Regions from separate parts of the Homo sapiens genome. Here regions 1, 3 and 4 are each linked to region 2. The links are contacts of gene promoters, found by promoter capture Hi-C in blood cells and fetal thymus (Javierre and others, 2016). All regions are on one chromosome and are shown on one strand. The core of a region is centred on a gene start or on the middle of the fragment in contact, and the rest is flanking DNA. Distances in the headings are between cores, read along the strand shown. Region 1 overlaps GPAT3 (glycerol-3-phosphate acyltransferase 3). Region 2 holds the start of LIN54 (lin-54 DREAM MuvB core complex component). Region 3 holds the start of LOC105377310 (a long non-coding RNA gene). Region 4 has its middle 80 kb from the start of HNRNPD.

What was found. The method cuts DNA at HindIII sites, captures the fragments that hold promoters and counts their contacts. A CHiCAGO score of 5 or more calls a contact.
Region 1: a contact is called between a fragment that was not itself captured here and the fragment with the promoter of LIN54 in region 2, in 1 of 17 cell types (neutrophils). The highest score is 5.2, in neutrophils.
Region 3: a contact is called between a fragment that was not itself captured here and the fragment with the promoter of LIN54 in region 2, in 2 of 17 cell types (naive B cells and non-activated CD4 T cells). The highest score is 5.3, in naive B cells.
Region 4: a fragment that was not itself captured here is called in contact with the fragment with the promoter of LIN54 in region 2 in 1 of 17 cell types (neutrophils); the score reaches 5.2 in neutrophils.

What each region holds. Positions count from the first base shown.
Region 1 is chr4:83,557,572-83,561,073 of GRCh38, forward strand. The region is part of intron 2 of GPAT3 (glycerol-3-phosphate acyltransferase 3); the gene reads left to right. Among named protein-coding and RNA genes, the nearest start is that of GPAT3, 23 kb to the left of the region's middle. The HindIII fragment of the contact is 4,090 bases long and covers 1-3,502 here.
Region 2 is chr4:83,009,141-83,012,239 of GRCh38, forward strand. It overlaps LIN54 (lin-54 DREAM MuvB core complex component), which reads right to left and starts at 1,683. Exons shown (of 13, transcript NM_194282.4): 1 at 1,344-1,683. RefSeq lists an enhancer at 1,523-1,622 and a silencer at 1,693-1,772. The HindIII fragment of the contact is 10,339 bases long and covers 1-3,099 here.
Region 3 is chr4:82,467,934-82,471,097 of GRCh38, forward strand. LOC105377310 (a long non-coding RNA gene) reads left to right here and starts at 1,072. Exons shown (of 3, transcript XR_007058164.1): 1 at 1,072-2,384. The HindIII fragment of the contact is 581 bases long and covers 1,254-1,834 here.
Region 4 is chr4:82,291,935-82,295,400 of GRCh38, forward strand. It overlaps the pseudogene VAMP9P. Among named protein-coding and RNA genes, the nearest start is that of HNRNPD, 80 kb to the right of the region's middle. RefSeq lists a silencer at 1,479-1,679. The HindIII fragment of the contact is 4,339 bases long and covers 1-3,466 here.

The DNA.
Region 1 (3,502 bases), core at 531-3,030, 550 kb after region 2:
CACACATTTATATGCAGCCCACAGGCCATGGGTTGGACAAGATGCCCTAAACCATGATATGTCCTCAGAACTCTTTCATGCAATCCAGCAGACAGCTACTCATGTCTCATTGTTTTGGAGTTGGCCTTTGCACTACCTCTGATCTGGAGGATAGATAGGGGTTCTCACGCTGTGTACCAGAGAGGGTCACTAACTGAGAGTTGGGGAACATGTTGAGTAGCTGGGTTTTGGCATGCATTTGATTTTATTGTTTGAGGTAGTATTGATGAATTTGACATAATGTAAAGGGCAATGAAGTTGATTGGAGACTCAGAGTTTTAAACAATGTAGGAAACCGGAATAGAATTTAAAGTCATCTTGACTGGGTGTGGTGGCTCATGCCTGTGATCCCAGCACTTTGGGAGGCCGAGGCAGGTGAATCACCTGAGGTCAGGAGTTCGAGACCAGCCTGGCCAACATGGTGAAATCCCATCTCTACTAAAAATACACAAAATTAGCCGGGCATGGTGGTGCATGCCTGTAATCTCAGCTACTAGGGAGACTGAGGTAGGAGAATCACTTGAATTGGGGAGGCGGAGGTTGCAGTGAGCCAAGATCATACCACTGCACTCCAGCCTAGGCGACACAGCAAGCCTCTGTCTTAAAAAAAAAAAAGAAAGTCATCTTGACAGTTTTGATGAATGAACCATCAGAGAGTGGGACTGCTTTCAAGATTGTTTACCCATAGCTGATGCTCTAAAATGGGATTAAAAAAACTGGGCTGGGTTACGTGATAAAGGTGTGCCACAGAATGACAGAGGCAGAGGTTTAGACAACCAGTGAAAAACAAGGCAAAACAGAACCTAAAAAGATGCTGCAGTGCTAACAGAACCAGCACATTCAACCACACAGCCATGACTGAACCACTCACCCTGGTTTCTGCCTGCAATATGAAAGGAGATCATTCTGGATGGGGGACATTGGCAAATGTTTTTTGGTGGATATACTGGTGTTGAAGCGGCCATGTGGAGATGGATTGGGATTAAATAAAGTGAGAAGACTGTCTAAACTGGAGGGATGAGGGAATAGCTTAATTAGCAATGGGAGTATATTTAGTTTATAGAAGGGACAAAACATAGAAATAAGGTTGTGGGAAAGCAAGATTGGGTTCTGGAGGCCCTAAAAACAAAGCAGTTTGGATTTGATGTAAAAGCGTAGATAAACCCAGGTTAACTGTTCATATTAAGGGTGGCAAAGAGGAAATTCTGAAGCCTGAAAAATGGTTAAGAGATCTGTGAATCTGTTAAGTGAGATCTGTGAAGGCTGATTACTGAATTTAGAGAAAAACCAAGGGATGACTCATATTAAGTTGGTTAACTAAGTTGGAAAGAGGAAGCAAACCCACATTTTCTCAAATTCTTAAGAGATGGAACAAAAAGATTGGCTTAAATGGAAATAAAAGAATTATATTGTATATAAGAAAACACTTCTTGTTAGCAAAAAATGATTAGAAAACTGGACCAGACTAGCAGGTAGATTATATGAGATATTTTCCAAGTAGGATAAATAGTTTAGAATTTTGGGAGAGGTATAAGTTATATAACAAAGCTCTTTTCATTTTCTTAACAGTGCCTGGTCATCTTGATTGTAAAAAGTTCTCTATAAAAATTTTAAATGTCTGTTTATTTTTAAATCCTTCTTTAGGCAGTGTTTATAATCATGGGACTATCTCATGTGGATTACTTAGTATATAAGCAGAGAAAGCAGGAAAGATTTTTTTTTTGTTTTTTGGAGTTAGAGTCTTGCTCTGTCACCCAGGCTAGAGTGCAGTGACCCAGTCTCTGCTCACTGCAACCCCTGCTTCCCAGGTTCAAGCGATTCTCCTGCCTCAGCCTCCCGAGTAGCTGGGATTACAGGCGCATGCTGCCACGCCTGGCTAATTTTTTGTATTTTAGTAGAGATGGGGTTTCACTGTGTTGCCCTGGCTGGTCTTGAACTCCTGAGCTCAGGCAATCTGCTTGCCTCGGCCCCCCAAAGTGTGGGATCGCAAGCGTGAGCCAGTGCACCCGGAGAAAGCAGGAAAGTTCTTCATCAGTTCTTTTAATCTGCCAGCAAGTAGCAACAATCGTTCCATTCTCCTTTGCCTTTTCTTCTTTCTCTAAAATGTTTTGGTAATGGAATTTCCCATTTTTCTCTGTCCTCTCACCGAAGCTCCTGGGACCCATGCATTCTCACATGAACAAAAAGATGAGGGGGGCAGGTGGCAAGGCATGCTTTGTACACAGTAGGCTGGGGAGATGGAAGTAGATAGCAGTGCTTCTGTTTGGCGAGAACAGGATTTTGGTCAGACAAGAGAGACAGCCAATTGGACTTGTGATTAGACAGAATCCTTTTCTTGGGTTGGAGTAGGAAAAAGCCAGTGATGTCTGGATGCCTGGGGAGCAGGCAAAACCTTTAGGCAGGAGCTTTGGTCTTTGTGAAGCAGCCTCAGAATAGTATGGTGGAAGCTCCACTGTGGACCCCCTTCACTGACTTTTCTAGACCAGGTGCCTGGTTTTCCTGCTTCTCTTCCTCAAAGCTCTGTTTCCTCCAAAGATTGGGCTGGTGAAAGAAGAGCTTTGATTGCCTAGAGGCCCATGAAGTTTCCAGAAGGTCCCTCAGGGAGCAAACCAGTAGACCTTTACATCTCCTGTGATTTCTGAGGAACAGCTTGTGAACAAGAGCAAGAGGAAAGTGCAATGTGGCCTGCTCTTCACCAGTTTGATCCTCAGCGTTTCTCCCTGGGGTGGGTGGACCTTGCCTCTGAGCTTCTCTGGTGTGGTGCCCAGGCAGCCGTACCTGCTCATTTCTTATTTATTTTTGTTTGAATTTTTTTTTTGTATTTTTTTGTATTTAAGTGACATCACAGTCATACGTACCTGCTCATTTCACCTGAGAAATAAGAGTGACTCTGAAGCATGAGGATGCAGGGGATACTGAGGACAGATTTTGTGGGTGGGATACTTTGGCCCCTTTACCTTTAAGTATCTGGGAAAAAGCACTCTATGCAGAGGACAGCAACTTGGAGGAATACTGGTGATACAGTTTGGATGTGTCCTCCTGCTCAAATCGCATGTTGAAATATAATCCCCAGTGTTGGAGGTGGGGCCTGCAGGGAGGTGGTTAGATCACAGGGGTAGGTTCTTATGAATGGTTCAGCACCATCCCCATGGTACTGTCCTCATGACAGTGAATGAGTTCTCCTAAGATGTAGTTATTTAAGCGTGTGGTACCTCCCCTCCGTCTCTCTCTCTTGCTCCTGCTCTGGCCATGTGGTGTGCCTGTCCCCACTTTTGCCTTCTGCCATGATTGTAAGTTTCCCCAGGCCTCCCCAGAAGCAGATGCTGCCATGCTTCCTGTACAACCTGCAGACCCGTGAGACAATTAAACCTCTTTTCTTATAAATTACCCAATCTCAGGTATTTCTTTATAACAATGTGAGAACAGACTAATACAACTGGCGTCAGGCCTTTACAAGGAGTTA
Region 2 (3,099 bases), core at 433-2,932:
TTATTCTTCTAGTAAGTGAAAGCCAGACCTACAAACTATACACACCTATTCACACAAAATATTTCCCCTCTAAGTAAACTACAAAATTTGTGATATATGACACACTATGGCACAGTGTGTTACATATACTCTTTGTAGACAATTTGAATAAGGAAATAATATCACATATACTCTCTGTAGACAATTTGAATACGGAAATTTAGGGCTAATCATAAACATTACCCATGGGCATTCCTCAATACTAATCCTTCTGTTCATTATACACTCAATGTCATTGACCCAAAAAAGCTGGGGGAAAAGCATAGGGTCCAAATTAATGTATAAAAATTTTTTTGCCCAGCCTAAAAATTTGATTCACATGTAACTTTTCTGTAACACTAGTGTTGTGTGCAAGGAGACAGACTCCTTACGGATCTTTCAGCATAACCTAAAACTTAACATGGGTCTTCAGATAACCTAATAAAACAGTGGCTGTTATAGTCAATCAATCCAGCTCTCTAAACAAAGGGCTAGGCTAATCACTCCAGCATTTAGTGATTTAGAAATAACAGAGGTCTCAATTTATTTTTCCCAACTTAATGTACTCACAACAAATGCTTGCATCACCCCATCGCAACTCTCCTTCTTAACAATGAAGGTAAAACTCAGGACCAAAAGAGAGCTCCTAGAGCTGTATTTCATTTGCATTATAAAATCTACAGCAAAATTTTTCATAACTTTACTCTCTGAATTCATGAACTAGGTTGGCGGGGGCAGGAGGGTGAGTATAGAGAAGAACTTCCCTGAAAAGCATGAGTATAAAATATAACTGAGAGTATCTCAATTGTTATATGCCAAATGGCAGGGGCAAAGAGGTTAGTTACTCTAAGGATAACAGAGCATTAAAAATTTTTTTTCTAATTCTTACAAAACTGGTCCCTATTCTATAAAATGTGAACATCCACAACCCAACAAGTTACAGACTAGGATCTAAGACACAGATCTTAAATGCAGATAAAATGCCAATGCTCTGCCTCCCTAAAGAAACGTACAACCCCAAGAACTGCTGAACACCATCAAAGCAACACCCGCCAGAGTGGCTGTTTTAAACATTATATCAGGAAATCATGATAAGTGCTAGCGGTTCCTCTAGGCCTCAGCAGCAGCCTTAGGTATAAGAGCAAACTGGAGCCCTCTTAACACTCAAAGAATAATGTTGATGTCATGACGAGGCTACTGATTCTTCGCACTCCGGACAAGTCATTCCTTGATCCACCGCGCAATTCTTTCCCCACCCACCCCCATCCCCCCAAATAAAGAGATCTCCGGACAGAGAAGCCCTCGGGTACCCCATCCTCCTCTACCTCCAGCGGCTGCCGCTTTCTCCTCCCTCGGGCTCCGAGGTAGGGGCTCCAGAAGGTCCTGGGCAATCCCGAGCCCCGGCGGGGCTTGTTTTGCCCGTGCACGATAGCTCTGGCCAGCAGCTTCCTTTCCCAGTTTGTCCAAACTGGAGCGCTCCAGGGTACCCGGGGACCGAGAAGGGAGCCGGGGTGGCGACGTCGCCGTCGCCGCCGCCTCTGGTATGTCAGGGGCCGGGATTGTATTTCGAAAGATCCGCCATTTTCACCTCGTCATCACCATCACAGCTCAGCAGCTTCCCCGACAGCCGGAGCCCGGGCCGCCGCCGCCGCCGCCACCACCAGTAACCTCCCCCTTCCTCCTCCTCCCCTCCCCGCCCGCCCCACCCGGGAGGCGCACACCCACATATCCGGGGAAGCCTCCCGCCGCCCCGCCAACCTTCAAACGCACAAGGGCCGTGCAAGTGCACACGGGCTACGCCGAGACCTTTCACCCCCGGGCGGAGCACGGGCCCCCGCAGGGACGCCAAAGGAAGTCGCGCCACCTGCGGGGTCCCAAGTCCGGCATATTTTTGTTTGCAAGACCAAAAGCCATGCGGAGGGTGGCATAAGGACAATAAAGAACCCAAACTCTTTCATTTTCAGAGCAGCAACTTGAGAGAGATGGTGGAATGCGTTTCATTCACTGTGGCTATCTCAGGCACTAAAAACACTGTGAAAGACCTTTAATGTCATTCACCAACTTTGACATTTTACCCCACCCGCAGAACTACTTTGACAGGATGAGCTATTTCCATATGCATGTTCGACCTTTGACACCTTTGTCAATTACAGGCAGCAATCCTCATGCAGATGAAGTGGTCAAAATATCTAATTTAAAAAAATAAAGTTCTGAGCTATCTTCCTCTCCAACTTAATTTATCTGGTCATTTCTGTCCATGAACACTGCGACTTCCAATCTGTCATCGGTTTAAGACGTCAAAGCGCAACTAGATTTGAAATGATTGAACTAATTGTAGAAACATTCATGAATGATCGATTTCTAAAATATTGAAAATATAACTCTTAGCTAAAATTATTTGCCAAATGTTTTTTTAGGATCTAAGTCATCAAATTAAAAAAAAACCATCTGCTGCTGATATATTTGTTCTGTACAGTAAAAATAAACAGCTTGCTTCAGAACAAGATCCTAGAGCTACCTACTAGGTAGGTAAGAGTTACCAGCTCTTGTCATCAGTCAGTTGAATAAGTAACCAAAAGAGAACAGAGGTAATTCTTAATCATTTAAAAAATAACAAAACATAAGCTGCAAGGCTTCTGAAGAGATCAGCATTAAAAAAAAAAAAAAAGGAAACTGGCTGCCTTTGTCAATTTTAGAAAGAGTTAACCATCCAAAAGCTGAATTCTGTATCATTCAACCACAACATAAGCTCTGGGCAAACTGAATTTCAAGGCTGCGAACAGGGCCACTCTACTGTCTAAGTTAGTGTAGGAAGAGTAAGGTTGAAGTTGAAGTTGAAAAAGTCATTTCATTTCCCTACCTTGTTTCAATGGCAACTCCATATAAAAGTCGGTAGATTCAGCCTTCAACAAGGGCTGTCCACCACCCACCCCAATTGCTGTTTTTATATGCAGACTACCAGATGCTGAGAGTATAAAGTGTTCTCAATTACTTCATCTTTAAACTTCATTTCCCCACTGACGGCCCCGTCCATCCGCACTCTGCTTGGTTGTTTACCGTTGCTGGCCAAGCTAAGTCCCG
Region 3 (3,164 bases), core at 294-2,793, 540 kb before region 2:
AGGACACACTGAGAAGGTGGCATCTACAAGCCAGGAGGAGCCTTCACTAAAAGCCAAATCTGCCAGAACCTTGATCTTGGACTTTGAGCTTCCAGAACTGTAAGAGAATACATTTCTGTCGTTTAAGCCACCCAGTCTGTAGCATTTTGTTACAGCAGCCCAAGCAGACAAACGCACAGCTCAAAACGAATGACCACAATTCTTTGTGAATGAGATCCATTATTCTGCTCCCTCTGGCATTCTTACCTGTGCTAGAAACCTGGGCTCTTACCTTCAAGGCCATCATCACTGAGCACAGGAGTGGGAGTTAGAAGGAGGGTAACTTAAATCACCACAGAGCTTCCTGAGCTTTTGCTGAGATTCAGGTAGTTTTGTAATTGCCCAGCTGGGTTCTTCTTGCCCACTGCCCAGAAAAGCTAATGCACTAAGAGCAGCAAGAGTGTTGCAGCAAATAATTTCATTATCACAGGGCCCACCAAGCAGATGGACGGGAAATAATTCTCAAATCCACCTCCCTGAGAATTCGGGGACTAGGGTTTTTCAAGGATAGTTTGGTGGGCAGGAGGCTAGGGAATGAGTAATGCTGATGGGTTGGGTCAAGGATGAAATCATAGGGGGTTGCTATTCTTTTGCTGAGTTGATATCTGGGTGCAACTTTTTTTAATGGGTGGTGCCAGTTGGTCCATACGAAATTCAAATCTGAAAAATATCTCAAACATCAGTCTTAGGTTTTATAACAGTGATGTTATCCACAGGGGCATTTGGGGGAAGTTACAAATCTTGTGACCAGTGGCTATGTGACTTCTGAGTAGTAAAGAGTTTTTTTTTTTTTTTTAGATGGAGTCTCACTCTATAGCCCAGGCTGGAGTGCTGTGGTGCCATCTCGGCTCACTGCAACCTTCACCTCCCAGGTTCAAGCAATTCTCTGCCTCAGCCTCCCGAGTAGCTGGGATTACAGGCACCCACAACCACACCCGGCTAATTTTTTTGTATTTTTAGTAGAGATGGGGTTTCACCATCTTGGCCAGGCTGGTTTTGAACTCCTGACCTCGTGATCCACCCACCTCAGCTTCCCAAAGTGCTGGGATTATAGGCATGAGCCACCGTGCCGGGCCAAGTAGTTTTAAACAGTCAAGTTATAAAACAATGACTGGTTAGAGTTTAACTCTGCCTACATCTTAGCAGAAGAAACAATGGCTGATTAGAGTTTGTGCCTACATCTTAGCAGAATTCAGGGCCCTATCACATTTCTAAGCTTGAGGCCTTTGGTTAGTTTTACAAAAGCAGTTTTGGTCCTGAGCAAGGAGGGGGTTAGTTATGAGAAGGAACTATTTTCATTTTTGTTTTAACATTAAACTATAAATTCGTAGGCCAGGCACGGTGGCTCACACCTGTAATCCCAGCACTTTGGGAGGCCAAGGTGGGAGGATCACTCAAGACCAGGAGTTCAAGACCAGCCTGGGTAATATGATGAAACCCCATCTATCAAAACAAAAGAAAACAAAACAAAAATTAGCTGGGCATGGTGGTTATGTGCCTGTAGTCCCAGCTACTCAGGAGGCTGAGACAGTAGGATTGCTTGAGGTTGGGAGGTCGAAGCTGCAGTGAGCCATGAGTGTGTCACTGCACTCCAGCCTGGGTGACAGAGTGAAACCCTGTCTCAAAAAATAAAAATAAAAGTAAATACAAAATTCCTCCTATAGTTAGCCTGGAATGAGCAAAGACAGCTTGTGAGGTTAGAAGGAAGATGGAGTCAGTTATGTTAGATTTCCCTCACTCATAATTTTTGCAAAAGTAGTTAGTCTTTCTTGATTAAGTCCTCCTGGTTGCTGTAAGCTTTTGCTTAGGTTCTAGAATTCTAAAAAAGTTGATTCTGGCAGTTTTTGCCAGTTTATTTATTGCTTTTTTGGAGGGACTTTTGATGTTCCTTATTCTTCCCTGTTCATGGATGTCACCCCTACATGCTTTTCTTACAATGTGACTTTTGCAGTCCTCTCACCAAGAGGTGGGGCCTATGTTCCATTCTATGAGACTGGGTGGGACTTACGACTGCTCCAACCAAACAAGGACAACAGAGGCCATGGTTTGTAACTTTCTAAGCTAGGTTATGATACAGCTTCTAGCTGACTCACTTTTTTCAAGAGCTGGGGTTAGACAATTGCTCTGGGGAAGTCAGCTACCACACTGTGAGAAGCCCAGATTCACCCATATGGAGAAAAACTAAGGCCTCAAGCTGACAGCCAGCCTTGACCTCCAGACACAAGAATAGGCTGGTCTTCAGATGCTTCCAGCGTCCAGCCTTCAAGCTCTCTAGTAGAGACCCCAGACTTCAGAGAAAAGCTGTCCCTGCTGTGCCCTGTCTGAATTCCTGACCCACAGAATCTGTGAGTATAATAAATGGTGGCTTTATGCCACTACATTTTGTGATAATCTGTTTGGCAGCCAACGTGAATCAAATAGTACTAAGCAGTGGACAGGATTTTTCATCCGTTTCAGCACAGCGAGGCTTTTAAAAGGCCTCTGCTGGGGTATGCAGTTAGGAACATCGAGATTGTCTCATCATTCCCCCGTCTCCTTCCAAGTGGTGGCATCTCTTATCTTCCTACATTTTGCAAGTGTCCCCATCTTCCCAGTCATACAGGCTTGAACCTTCAGAATGTCTTTGACGCTTTCTTCCCCTTCACCCTCCTCCACAGGCAGCAAGTCACACCTGTTGTCTTTTGCACAGTGCCTCTCAAATTCGTTTTCTTCCCATTCCTAGCAGCCTGTGCTTGAAGCTCCAGTAGTTATTCCTACAAAATAAAATGCCACAATAGAAAAAGACTGCTGATAATAAGCATAGTGCTTTCAGGCTTTATACTAGAAAAGGGTACTGCTTAAAGCCTTCCAAGGGCAAGTAATGATAATGCTTATGGATACGATAAGGAAGTCAAATGTATTTTGAGAAAGCTCTCTCCTAGGACAATGCAAAAAGCAAATCACCAGCTGGTCTCTATCTGGAGTACTTCTAGTCACTGAATCCACTTGTTGCTGTGTTTAGTCTAAGCCCTTTCCCCCCAGTGCTCTTAATTATCTCTGGCTACAAATCTAAATATAGTTTACAAAAATCTGGTCATCTTAGATGTTATTCTAATATTGACTGGTAAATAAATCTCTTAGTTCTG
Region 4 (3,466 bases), core at 268-2,767, 720 kb before region 2:
AGGACTATAGTACGAGTGTTTTTGCATCAGATGGTACATGGTATCTGATTATATCTCCTTTTGAGATGTTAGCAGCTATCGATACTCATTGCTAGGCCCAAGAGCCACTAATTTATAAGGGATTGCAAAATGGTAATAATCTAGTTTTGTATTCACAGACAAAATTAGCTGAAATGATTTTAAAAAGAGATACTTTCCTTATTTGCTGTTTGCTTACCTGTGTTCTACATTCTAATTTGAATCTTTTGAAGACCTTTTTTTCTGAACTCCAGACTCGTATACCCACTTGTTCCACTCTGCTTGAATGTCTAATTAAAGTATCTCAAACATATCCAAAGCTAAGCCTCTTCCAGAAGTCTTCCACATATCACTTTTCTAGTTCCTCAGGCCTAAAACCTATAGTATTCTTGACTCTTGTCTCTTTTATATTGAAATCCAATCCATGGGCAAATCCCATTGCCTGTCCTCTCCAAATAGTAACCAAGCCACCATCATCTCCTGCCTTGATCACTCAATACAAAGCCATCTTTCTCATTTTGTTTCTGATTTCTAATGGTTACTTTTTTCTTTGTTTTTTAAACGGAGTCTCGCTCTGTCGCCAGGCTGGAGTGCAGTGGTGCAATCTTGGCTCACTGCAACCTCTACCTCCCAAGTTCAAGCGATTCTCCTGCCTCAGCCTCCCAAGTAGCTGGGATTACAGGTGCGCGCCACCATGCCCAGCAATTTTTGTATTTTTAGTAGACATGGTTTCACCATGTTTGCCAGGATGGTCTCGATCTCTTGACCCTGTGATCCGCCCACCTCGGCCTCCCAAAGTGCTGGGATTACAGGCGTGACCCACCGTGCCCGGACCTAATGGTTACTTTTTTTAAAAGTTTCATTAATAACATTTTTATTATGCAAAATATATATGCAGTACCAAAGTCAAATCTACAAAACAGTTCCTTCGAGAAGTCTAATTTGCATTCTGTTCCTCTCCTTACTACTCTTTCCCCCTATGTAGGTAACCATTTTGAACAAGTTTTTGGTTTATCTTTTTTTCTTTTCTTTTTTCCTATAAGAAATACATTCTATAAGAATACATTAGCCGGGTATAATGGTGCACACCTGCAGTCCCAGCTACTTGGGAGGCTGAGGTGGGAGGATGGCTTAAGCTCGGGAGGTGGAGGTTGCAGTGAGCAGAGATTACACCATTGCACTCCAGCCTGGGTGAGAGAGCCAGACCCTGTCTCAAAAAAAAGAACACAATATAGAGTACATACAGTAGCCCTCCCTTATCTGAGGGGGATACATTCCAAGACCCCCAGTCTTGTGGATACCTGAAACCACAGATGGTACCAAACCCTATAAAATATACTGTGTGTTTTTATACATATATGATAACATTTAATGTATAAATTAGGTACAATAAGAAATTAACAACAATAATAATAAAATAGAGCAATTATAACAATATTCTGTAACAAAAGTTATGTAAATGTCATCTTTCTTTCTCTCTCTCACAAAAACATCTCATTGCATTTTACTCACCTATTTTTGGACTGCGGTTGACCATGAGTAACAGAAACCACAGAAAGTGAAGCCACAAATAAGAGACTACTGTATGTACATTTGAACTTCCCTTATGGTAGCGTATGATGTGATAGATAAATGATAGCACATCATGCACACTTTTCTCCACCTGGCTTTTGTCAATTAATGATATCTCCTGAACATCAGATATTCAAGTTGTTTTTAAGATTATAGATGCTTTCTGAATATTACTCATAGTATTAATAACATACTAAGCATAAATTTAAAATATCTCTTTTTCACATGCAGTATCAATTTACTTCAAATTACATGTGTAACTTTCAGATAGATGGTACAATTAGCAACTCTTTTTCAGCGGACTCCACCAAATTTTTAAATAAAAATGTTTTCTAGGTGGAGATTATGTGTATAAATCAATATAATCATTAAAAACATTTGTAGCATATTGTATTCATGATATGATGTGAAGGATTTACACTGAAAGGGTTCATATGTTAAATTTTCTGCCTCTGAAATTATCTTTTCTTCCTGTTTCTGAGTTTCCTCATTCTCATATATATTCAATTTAGCATTTGACCATGTCTGTTGCCTGTTAACCATTTAGAGATAGTATTCACAAAGACTAAAGTCTAGGCACCAAGCAACTATTTTTGTTGCATATTCCTGCATTTTCTGGATTGTTGGGCAGTAAAGGATGGAGGCACTTTCCAAGGGGATTCTAGCCCCTACTGTGGGACTCTGAGAAGGCAGAAAGGTCTAGATGGTTGAGTGGTCATGCTAAGGTTCATTTTAACATACTGTGGTTCACTTTAACATTCATTCCTCCCTCCCCAACTCATCCTGAATATTTGGTATTTGCAGTTTACAAATTTTTAATTCTAATGTATAGAAAACCAAGATGTACCAAAATTAAATATGTCTACCTAAAATATAGACATACTAAAATTCAATGAACATAGTATTTTCTGTGTTTGTTTTTGTTTTACAGGCAGAGTCCCACACTTTCGCCTGGGCAGGAGTGCAATGGCGCAATCTTGGCTCACTGCAACCTCCACTTCCTGGGTTCAAGCGATTCTTCTGCCTCAGCCTCCCGAGTAGCTGGGATTGCAGGTGCCCGCCACCACACCTGGCTAATTTTTTGTATTTTTAGTAGAAACAGGGTTTCACTATGTTGGCCAGGCTGGTCTTGAACTCCTGACCTCGTGATGCACCCGCCTCAGCCTCCCAAAGTTCTGGGATTACAGGTATGAGCCACCGCATCCAGCCAAACATAGCATTTTCTATTTAGTCAGAATCTTGATTCAGTCTTAGAATGTGAGTGACTTCAAATATAGATATATATATAGGCCAGGCGTGGTGGCTCACACCTGTAATCCCAGCACTTTGGGAGGCCATGGGAGGCAGATCACTTGAGGCCAGGAGTTCGAGACCAGCCTGGCCAACATAGTGAAACCCTGTCTCTACTAAAAATACAAAAATTATCTAGGCATGGTGGCACATGCCTGTAATCCCAGCTACTCGGGAGGCTGAGGTAGGAGAATTGCTTGAACCCGGGAGGCAGGGGTTGCAGTGAGCCAAGATTGCACCACTGCACTCCAGCCTGGGCGACAGAGTGAGACTCCATCTCAAAAAATAAAATATATATATATACCAAATTATTAGTTTTCTCTTTGATTTATTTTTATTGATGCAATTTTAAATACATATTTAAATTCTACAGATTTCACTTAACATAATTTACTTCAATTTTTCAAATATATGAGAGGTCTTCTAATTATTATGCTTCTTTGTTTTTGGTTTTTTTATTTTTGTTTGAGACAGGGTCTCACTCTGTCGCCCAGGCTGGAGTACAGTGGCGTGATCATGGCTCGCTGCAGTCTCAACCTCCTGGCTCAATCAATCCTCCCACCTTAGCCCCCCAGGTAGCTGGAAA